Regions from separate parts of the Homo sapiens genome. Here region 1 is linked to region 2. Evidence: promoter capture Hi-C in 16 types of primary human blood cells and fetal thymus (Javierre and others, 2016). All regions are on one chromosome and are shown on one strand. Each heading gives the region's core, a stretch centred on a gene start or on the middle of the fragment in contact. The rest is flanking DNA. Distances are from core to core; before and after follow the strand shown. Region 1 overlaps PKIG (cAMP-dependent protein kinase inhibitor gamma). Region 2 holds the start of LINC01620 (long intergenic non-protein coding RNA 1620).

The links. The method cuts DNA at HindIII sites, captures the fragments that hold promoters and counts their contacts. A CHiCAGO score of 5 or more calls a contact.
Region 1: a fragment that was not itself captured here is called in contact with the fragment with the promoter of LINC01620 in region 2 in 7 of 17 cell types (megakaryocytes, erythroblasts, M0 macrophages and 4 more); the score reaches 13.1 in megakaryocytes.

What each region holds. Positions count from the first base shown.
Region 1 is chr20:44,615,834-44,620,083 of GRCh38, reverse strand. PKIG (cAMP-dependent protein kinase inhibitor gamma) reads right to left here. Exons shown (of 4, transcript NM_001281445.2): 4 at 1,047-1,799. The coding sequence ends at 1,720. It overlaps ADA (adenosine deaminase), which reads left to right. Exons shown (of 12, transcript NM_000022.4): 12 at 237-562. The coding sequence ends at 250. Among named protein-coding and RNA genes, the nearest start is that of ADA, 34 kb to the left of the region's middle. RefSeq lists enhancers at 1,583-2,310, 4,205-4,250. The HindIII fragment of the contact is 3,680 bases long and covers 823-4,250 here.
Region 2 is chr20:44,462,660-44,466,967 of GRCh38, reverse strand. It overlaps LINC01620 (long intergenic non-protein coding RNA 1620), which reads left to right and starts at 1,624. Exons shown (of 3, transcript NR_132343.1): 1 at 1,624-1,803. It also overlaps the pseudogene RPL37AP1. The HindIII fragment of the contact is 2,937 bases long and covers 1,297-4,233 here.

The DNA.
Region 1 (4,250 bases), core at 1,413-3,912, 150 kb before region 2:
GAAGCCCAGTCCCAAAGGTCTGGGCAGTTGGGGACACCTCCATGGCTGCCCAAAGCCAAGGGCAGGGAGAGGGGCCCAGGCCTGTTCTGCTCCTTTCTTCCTATGTGGTCTTGGCAAGGCATCTTCTTGCCATCATAGGAAGGAGTTCCTTTCTGGTTCTGGTGTTCTATGATTTTTACAACATCCTGGGTACTACAAGTTGCCTGATCTTTTTGCTTCTCTGAACCAACGAGCAGGGCAGAACCTCTGAAGACGCCACTCCTCCAAGCCTTCACCCTGTGGAGTCACCCCAACTCTGTGGGGCTGAGCAACATTTTTACATTTATTCCTTCCAAGAAGACCATGATCTCAATAGTCAGTTACTGATGCTCCTGAACCCTATGTGTCCATTTCTGCACACACGTATACCTCGGCATGGCCGCGTCACTTCTCTGATTATGTGCCCTGGCCAGGGACCAGCGCCCTTGCACATGGGCATGGTTGAATCTGAAACCCTCCTTCTGTGGCAACTTGTACTGAAAATCTGGTGCTCAATAAAGAAGCCCATGGCTGGTGGCATGCAGCAGGTGGCATGTAATTTGGTGGTCTTGGGCGGGCCGATGTGGGCAGGATGAGCATGGAGGGAGCTGGGTCAGCCTGCTCAGCAGCAGGGCCTGAGCCTAAGGGTGGCTGTGAATGCCAGGCCAGAGATCCCAATGCTGTGGGCCAAGAGGGGTCCAGAGGCTGTCCTCCTTCCAGAAGAAATAAGGCTTCTCTGGTTGTTGCTCAAACATTCCCTGAACTCTCAGCCCCTCCTAACTCTAGGTTTTAAGGAGTAAAGCTTCCTTTTGGGTTCCTGAAGCTGGCAGTTGGGGTGAGAGCAGATGAGATGGAAGAGGGCTCATCAGACACTGGCCTTGGAGGGTGCTGGCCTCTGCAGAACGCCAGCATCTTCTCAGAATCGTATGTTCTAGAAGCCTGGGGCAAGTCCGGCTAATTGTGGACTTGGGGAAAATAAGGCCCAACCCCTGTTTTTGCAAGGTTAAGGAGAAATAATCTTAAACCAGTCACACAAATCATCGGCATTTATTTCCTGGGTCCTAGGTGTCACTTATCCTGGTGGACAGGGCAGAGGTGGTCAGATCGTTTTGAGCCAAAATCCCTTCCCTAAAAATGGATCTGTGGAGCTCCATGAGGGAACCTCAGAGATGCACAATGACAGTTTAGCTAAAATGGCTTAAAAAATGTGAATTGATTGTCAGCTCTCTCCATATCTGCTGAAAAAAGGTTTAAAATTTTTAAAAAGTTTAAAAGTGTTTTCTAAAAAAGGGACAAGCAGGTCTGGACCCAGAAGATTGGGCTGGAGAGGAGGTGTTGGTGTTGGGACAGGGTCCCTGCCCGGGCCGCTCGCGAGAGGAGCGTTCCTGTGTGGGCTGCTCACTGTAGGGCAGGCCCCGCCCAAGTCCCGGCGCCAGCTCAATAAATAACATCTTGTGGTTACAGTGTCTTGAAAGTGTACCTGGGCACGGTGCGAAGGTGGTGGGAATGTGAAGCCTGTGGGTGTGGGCAGAGGGCTTTCCCGGAGTGGAGGCCACAGAGGCCTCTGGGGAGCCTTCTCAGTCTGGCCTGGTTTATCTGGGACATGGAGCTCAGAGAAGAGGCTGCTGGGCCAGTGCCAGGGTTCCCCCTCTGGGAGGGGACAGAAGGTCTCTCGTCCAGCCTTCTTGGACAAGGTCAGATTCAAGACGAGGTGGTCCCATCGCTGCTCTGGGGCTGGTTGCCAGCTTCCTTGTCTGGGGCGCTTCCCTCCACCTGTCCTTCTGGAGAGGAGAGAAAGAGGTTTTTCTTGGGCACATATACACAAAGTAATGCACAGAAGGAGGTGTGAAAGGGCCCAGCCAAACTGATAGCAGTGGATATGCCCTGGGGAGCAAGACGAGCTGGAGCTGGACTGAGGTGGTGGTGGCCTATGGACTTTAGCCTGGTCTGTAACATCTTTTTACATGGAAATACACATAGTGTTTGTTAGTATAATTAAGAGTCAATTAAGGGCCATTATGGATGGGTGCTTAAAGCATCAAGTGAAGGGCTCTTGAAGGTTGCTTTGTTTGTGCAGGTTCCCCAGAGGGAGAGGCCAGATGTTAAGTCCCCAGTGTGTCACAGGTGCTCAGCAAATGGCAGCTGTTCTGTTTGTTTGTTTTTTTTTTAATTTTTGTATTTTTAGTAGAGACGGGGTTTCACCATGTTGGCCAGACTGGTCTCAAACTCCTGACCTCAGGTGATCTGCCTGCCTCAGCCTCCCAAAGTGCTGGGATTATAGGTGTGAGCCACCGTGCCCGGCCAATGTTCTTCTAAGAGAGTAAAGAGCACTGAACCAGGCCAGCTCAGGGAGCGCCAGGGTGTGGCCTGCATCAGAGTCTGTGGGGGCCAACCGTGCATCATGGGGTGTGTGTTGTACCTCCTTCTCAAATCCATCCTGTCAGACATCTTGGTGGGGTGAGGGGCAGCAGCAGGCTCACAGAGATGGAGCACCTCACTGAGGGGAGTCAGGATACAAGCCAAGTCTCCTCACTTTCAGCTTCCCTTGAGCCCCCCTGTGCAAGGTGGGACAGGCAGCTCCTGCCACCCACTGGACCAGCAGTGCAGGTTGAGGGGAGTGCCAAACTCACACCCAGGCCCCAGTCTCCATGCTTTCCTCCTCAGGCTGCATGATAAACAGGTGTCTTTTCATAAGGTGCACCACGTGGGGCCTGGCATGTGGGCAGAGCTCAATAGGTGGTACATTCTTAAACCCCAGTGACACTGTGCAATGTTACTAGGTGCCCTACAAGCTCACTGAGGGCCTGAGTTCAAATCCAGCCCAACCAGACCACACCTTTTTATCCTTCAGGCTAAGCCCTTCACAGAACCAGGAGAATCACCACCCTATAGCAAGCTCCAGGGTCTGCAGATGGATGGGCACTTTCTCGTGCAATGCACACAGTAACATGGAGGTGTAACTAGGGTCATGATATGCATGAGAAAACCGAGGCCCAGCGAGGTGAGCTGATTTGCCTGGATCAAGGGTGGAGAGCCCTGCCTGCCACCAAGGCTAGTACCCCTTCTACCAAATTTAACCTCCTCCAATAAGCAGCATTCCTGAAGGTTTATAGAGGCCTGACATCAGCACTGCCTCACTGTGCCCCTGCGGCAAGCTAGGAAGTGGGTGGTAGCTCGGGACCCTATTCCGAGCCCGCTGCCTGGAAAGCCTGCTTTTATTCCCAGCGGGGTGGCGCCTGGAACTCTGTACTCCCCCTGCCTTGGGGAGTCGCTGGAGTGGGCGTGGCCCGCAGCCCCGCCTGTGAAACGGAACTGCTCCCTGCGGGCTTCCTGGAAGGCTCCTTGGCCAGTCACTCTTGCCTGGACGCCACCGTGAGTGTTTCCTTTCCTTCAGTGAGCACTGTTCTTTCCTCAGGCCCCCTTTTTAAATGTCAGTCACCCTGGCAGGTGAATGTCATGTAGCCAGAGGACCCATACTTTAGGGAATCTGAGTCAGGGAAAACAGGTGTTAGGAGAGCCTGGGCACATGGGCCAGCAGCTACAACTGCTGAGGGAGAGAGAGACAGAACAGAGCTCACCAGAGCTGAGGGTGAGGACACAGAAGCCTTGAGAGAGAGCCCAGGGCAGCGTGCCCAGTGTGGCAGCTGGACATGCTGGTCATTCAGTCGGTCAATGAACAGCCATTGACTCGGTACCTCCATCATGTGCCAAACACCACCAGGCACCGAGGGCACAAGACACAGAGCCTGTGCTGGAGAAGCTCAGTCTAGAGCAGGGCCATTATGCTCAGTGGGCTCATGGAGGCAGCAGGGAGAAGAGGTGCCTCCCCGGTCTGGGAGGGGTACTGCGGTCAGGGAAGGCTTCTCAGCTGAGCAGATGCCTGGGTCTCTAAGAATGAAGAGAACCCAGCCAGGCAAGGGGAGGGAGGGGAGAAGCAAACAGAGGTGCAGCGTGTGAAGGCCCACAGGGGCTTCTGAGCGATCAAAGTACTTGACTATGGCTGGCGAGAGGATGAGAGTTGATGCTGGAGAGGCGAGCAGGGTGAGCCTGTGGAGGTTCTGCCTGGGCCACGTGACAGAGGAGAATGAATAGATTATGGGACAGGGAAGGCTTTTGGGGTGGGGTTCCGTCGACAGGGTGCTGGGGGCTCTCTCTCAAGCCGGCCAGATTCTATGTTAACTCCCTGGGTGGCCCAGAGCAAGTCCTCCAACTTCTCTGGGCCTCAGTTTGTC
Region 2 (4,308 bases), core at 375-2,874:
AACTGAGGCTGGGGGTGGTGGACATGACTTGTAAGATGTTTCTAGAAAGCTCTGCTGTGACAACCAGTAACTGTTTTTTAAAAGCCCAGTCCAACTCTCTGGGCTCGGACCTAGTTCGCGGTGACATGGCCAAACCTACCAAGAAAGTCGGGATCGTCGGTAAATACGGGACCCGCTATGGGGCCTCCCTCTGGAAAATGGTGAAGAAAGTTGAAATCAGCCAGCAGGCCAAGTACACTTGCTCTTTCTGTGGCAAAACCAAGATGAAGAGATGAGCTGCGGGGATCTGGCACTGTGGTTCCCGCGTGAAGACAGTGGCTGGCGGTGCCTGGACATACAATACCACCTCCGCTATCACGGTAAAGTCCGCCATCAGAAGCCTGAAGGAGTTGAAAGACCAGTAGACGCTCCTCTACTCTTTGAGACATCACTGGCCTGTAATAAATGGGTTAATTTACGTAACAACAACAACAACAAAAAAGAGCCCAGTCCAAACCCACAGCTGCTAAAATTTGGCCATGGCTACCCAAAACCCCCACATTTACTATTACCCCTATACCCACCACATTCTCCTAGGATGGGAAGAGGAAGCAAAGAGTTCTTTGGTGACCATCTCCCTGGAAGGGTGGAATGGGGTCATGGGGGCTCTTCCATGAGAGGGGCCACTATATGTAGAGAATAATGTGTGGCCATTATGAGGGGGCCCAGTGGTCTCATGTGGGCATGGACATCTAGAGGCTGAGAGAAACGGGCTGCCTGGCTGAACTGGTGAAGGAGCCAGTGTGGGCGTGCTAAGGTAAGCCACATTCCCAGGACTTTCGGAGTACAGGCTGCTGGCTGGAGTGTTTCCCATGGGCCAGTGTTGGCAGAGAGCACCTACAAGGGGTCCTCTTGGGTCCTGTCCCCTAGAGCCTCCTGGAGGGGCAGAGGTGTGGCAGCAGCAAGAAGCTTGAGTTGGATGTTGGGTTCCTAAGGGCTGACGAAGGACTTGCAAGGGACCCCTATGAGGAGAGATGCATCCCCCAAGGTTAAGAGTGAGAGGGCCCCTGTGACAGTGGCCATCTCCATGGAGCCCACGACAGAAAGGGGCAGCTTGAAGCCAGCCAGGATGGTGGCAGCTCAAGGGAGACCCTTCCTCTCCCCTTGCCATCTCCAACACCCCCCACTGTACCCCACGGGTGGGTGAGGGAAGGAGAGATAGAGAAGGAGTCACCCACACCACCTCCCTGAAGCAGGCCTGAGGGTGAGGGGAGAAGGTTTAAACCCAAATCAAATTGGGAATTTTGGTTAGAAGCTTGACTGGACATTCTCATTTCTAAATTGAGGTTGTGTTTGTGACCTAAAGTGACCATAGAATTGCCTGTTTCCTCAGAACAAGCAGAAGAATAATGGGGAGATTTCACCCAGTGGCAGGGAAAATGTTTCTCTACCAAATACATCTTAGAAAGGACACTGGGAGATACAAATTAAGGTATGCTTTGATTATGTCACAGGCTGGGTTTGTTCAACATGCTGGTCTCAGTGAGAAGGAGGATTCTCCAAAACAAGTCTAGGAAGTGAATGTTCCAGAATGTTCTAGAACTTGATTCATTAGGCAGGCAAGAAGTGTGCCTCTGGGAACCTCTTGAGCCCTTCATGGGCTAGCACACCAACACCATCCCCCCAGATGCTTCAGTTGTTGGCTTCGAATGGCTTACTATTTCCATTTCTACGGAGAACTGCCATCTCAGGAATCACCTCACCCTGGAGTTTATTCCCCTCACCCACAGGGTGGCTGGCAGCCAACAGCTGACTCGTACAGAGGTACACAAAGCCAGCCTTTTTGCTAGACTTTACCTGAGACCACATCTTTTCTTGTTTCCCTCCCTGTCTTGCTTCCCTTCATCCCTTACAGGTTCTTTCCTTTATAAATCACACAGTACCTAATCTTTGCTTCAGGCTCTGTGTCTGAGGAGCTGAAAATGATTTTGGGCATCAGGAGGTGCTTTTGTGACTGGGCTCTTTCACTAGTTCTGAGCTAGGTAATCCATTAGCGAAACTTCTAGATCCTAAATCAAACTACATAGATTCAAATCACAGCACCATTACTTCACTGCTGTGTGACCTTGGCCAATGACTAGTTACTACATCCCAGTTTTCTCATCTGTCATACAGAAGGCAAACACTGACCCACCTCACAGGGCTTTGCAAGGATTCAACATACAAAAGCACCTAGGATAGTGCCTGGCACAATCGATGGTGCCATTGTTATTCCTCCAGGCTAACAGCACTGACTAAGTGCAAAGGAAGTGGCTTTTTGCCATCTAGTTGAGGATGCTGTATCCTGGGGTAAGTGGCCAGATCATAGGATGGCTGTGGTTCAATTGTAATAAAATAATCACCCTTGGCCAGGCTGGTGGCTCACACCTGTAATCCAGCACTTTGGGAGGCCGAAGCAGGTGGATCACCTGACGTCAGGAGTTCGAGACCAGCCTGGCTAACATGGTGAAACCTTGTCTCCACTAAAAATACAAAAATTAGCCAGGCATGGTGGTGCGTGCCTGTAATCCCAGCTACTTGGGAGGCTGAGGCAGGAGAATCACTTGAACCTGGGAGGCGGAGGTTGCAGTGAGCTGAGATTGCAACACTGCACGAGACTCCATCTCAAAAACAACAACAACAACAAAAACCCACCGTTTATGGAACCCCTACTATGTCCCAGTCCCTGTTCTATGTGCTGCATATGTGCTTATGTGCTAGTTCACTCTGTCTTCACTACCTTTCAAAACTGATGTAATTATCTCCTTTCTTTTTTGAGATGGAGTCTCGCTCTGTTGCCAGGCTGGAGTACAGTGGCACGATCTTGACTCACTGCAACCTCCGCCTCCCGGGTTCATGTGATTCTCCTGCCTCAGCCTCCCGAGTAGCTGGGACTACAGGTGCACACCACCATGCCCAGCTAATTTTTGTACTTTCAGTAGAGATGGGGTTTCACCATGTTGGCCAGGATGGTCTCGATCTCTTGACCTCATGATCTGCCTGCCTCAGCCTCCTAAAGTGCTGGGATTACAGGCGTGAGCCACTGCACCCGGCCAATTATCTCCATTTTACACATGAAAACACTGAGGTCCAGACAGTCTAAGAAACCATCTATTAGATCCACAGGTTAAAAAAAATGAGTGCATCTAAAATGACTATAATTAAAAAGGCCAGACTGGGAAGTAGTTTGCAGTTTCTTAAAAAGTTAAACACACACTTATGTGACCAGCAATTGTATTCCTGCATAATGAAAGCGTTTGTCCTCTCAAAGACATGAACATGAGTGTTCATAGCAGTTTTATTTGTAATAGGCAAAAACTGGGGGAAACAATGACATGCCCAGGGGCATGGGTGAAGAAACTATGGCTTCTGTATCTTTCTTTGTTGTTTGTTTGAGACAAAGTGGAGTGCAGTGGTGCGATCACGGCTCACTGCAGCTCGACCTTAGGGCTCAAGCGATTCTCCCACCTCAACCTCCTGAGTAGCTGAGACTACAGACAGGCACATGCCACCATGCCTGGCTAATTTTTTGGTGTTTAGTAGAGACACGGTTTCGCTATGTGGCCCAGGCTGGTCTCAAACTCCTGGGCTCAAGTGATCTGCTCGTCTCAGCCTCCCAAAGTGTTGGGATTACAGGTGTGAGCCACCGTGCTTCACCTGTGAGATCTATTAGGTTGGTGCAAAAGTGATTGCGGTTTTTGCCGTTAAAAGTAATGGCGAAATGGCCAGGCATGGTGGTTCATGCCTGAATGAGAGAAGTCAGACAGAAAGAGTACATATTTGCGGGGCGCAGCGGCTCACGCCTGTAATCCTAGCACTTGGAGAGGCTGAGGTGGGCGGATCACCTGAAGCCAGGAGTTCGAGACTACTAAAAATACAAAAAAAAAAAAAATTAGCCAGGTATGGTAGCGCACGCCTGTGATCCCAGCTACTAAGGCTGAGGCAGGAGAATTGCTTGAACCCCTGGGGGGCAGAGGTTTCAGTGACCCGAGATTTCACCACTGCACTCCAGCCTGGGCAACAGAGAGAGGCTCTGTCTCAAAAAAAAAAAAAAAAAAATTAAGACAGAGTACATATAGCATGATTTCATTTCTATAAAATCCCAGAAAATGTAAAGCCATCTATAGTGAAAGAAAGCAACCTATATTGGTGATGGTTACCTGGGAATGGGGTGGTGGGATGAATGGGGGATGGCTTATAAACGAGCATGAAGCTTTTGGAAGCGATGGAAACACTTGGCATCTTGATTGTGGTGATGGTTCCTTGGGTATGTACATATGTTGAAACTCA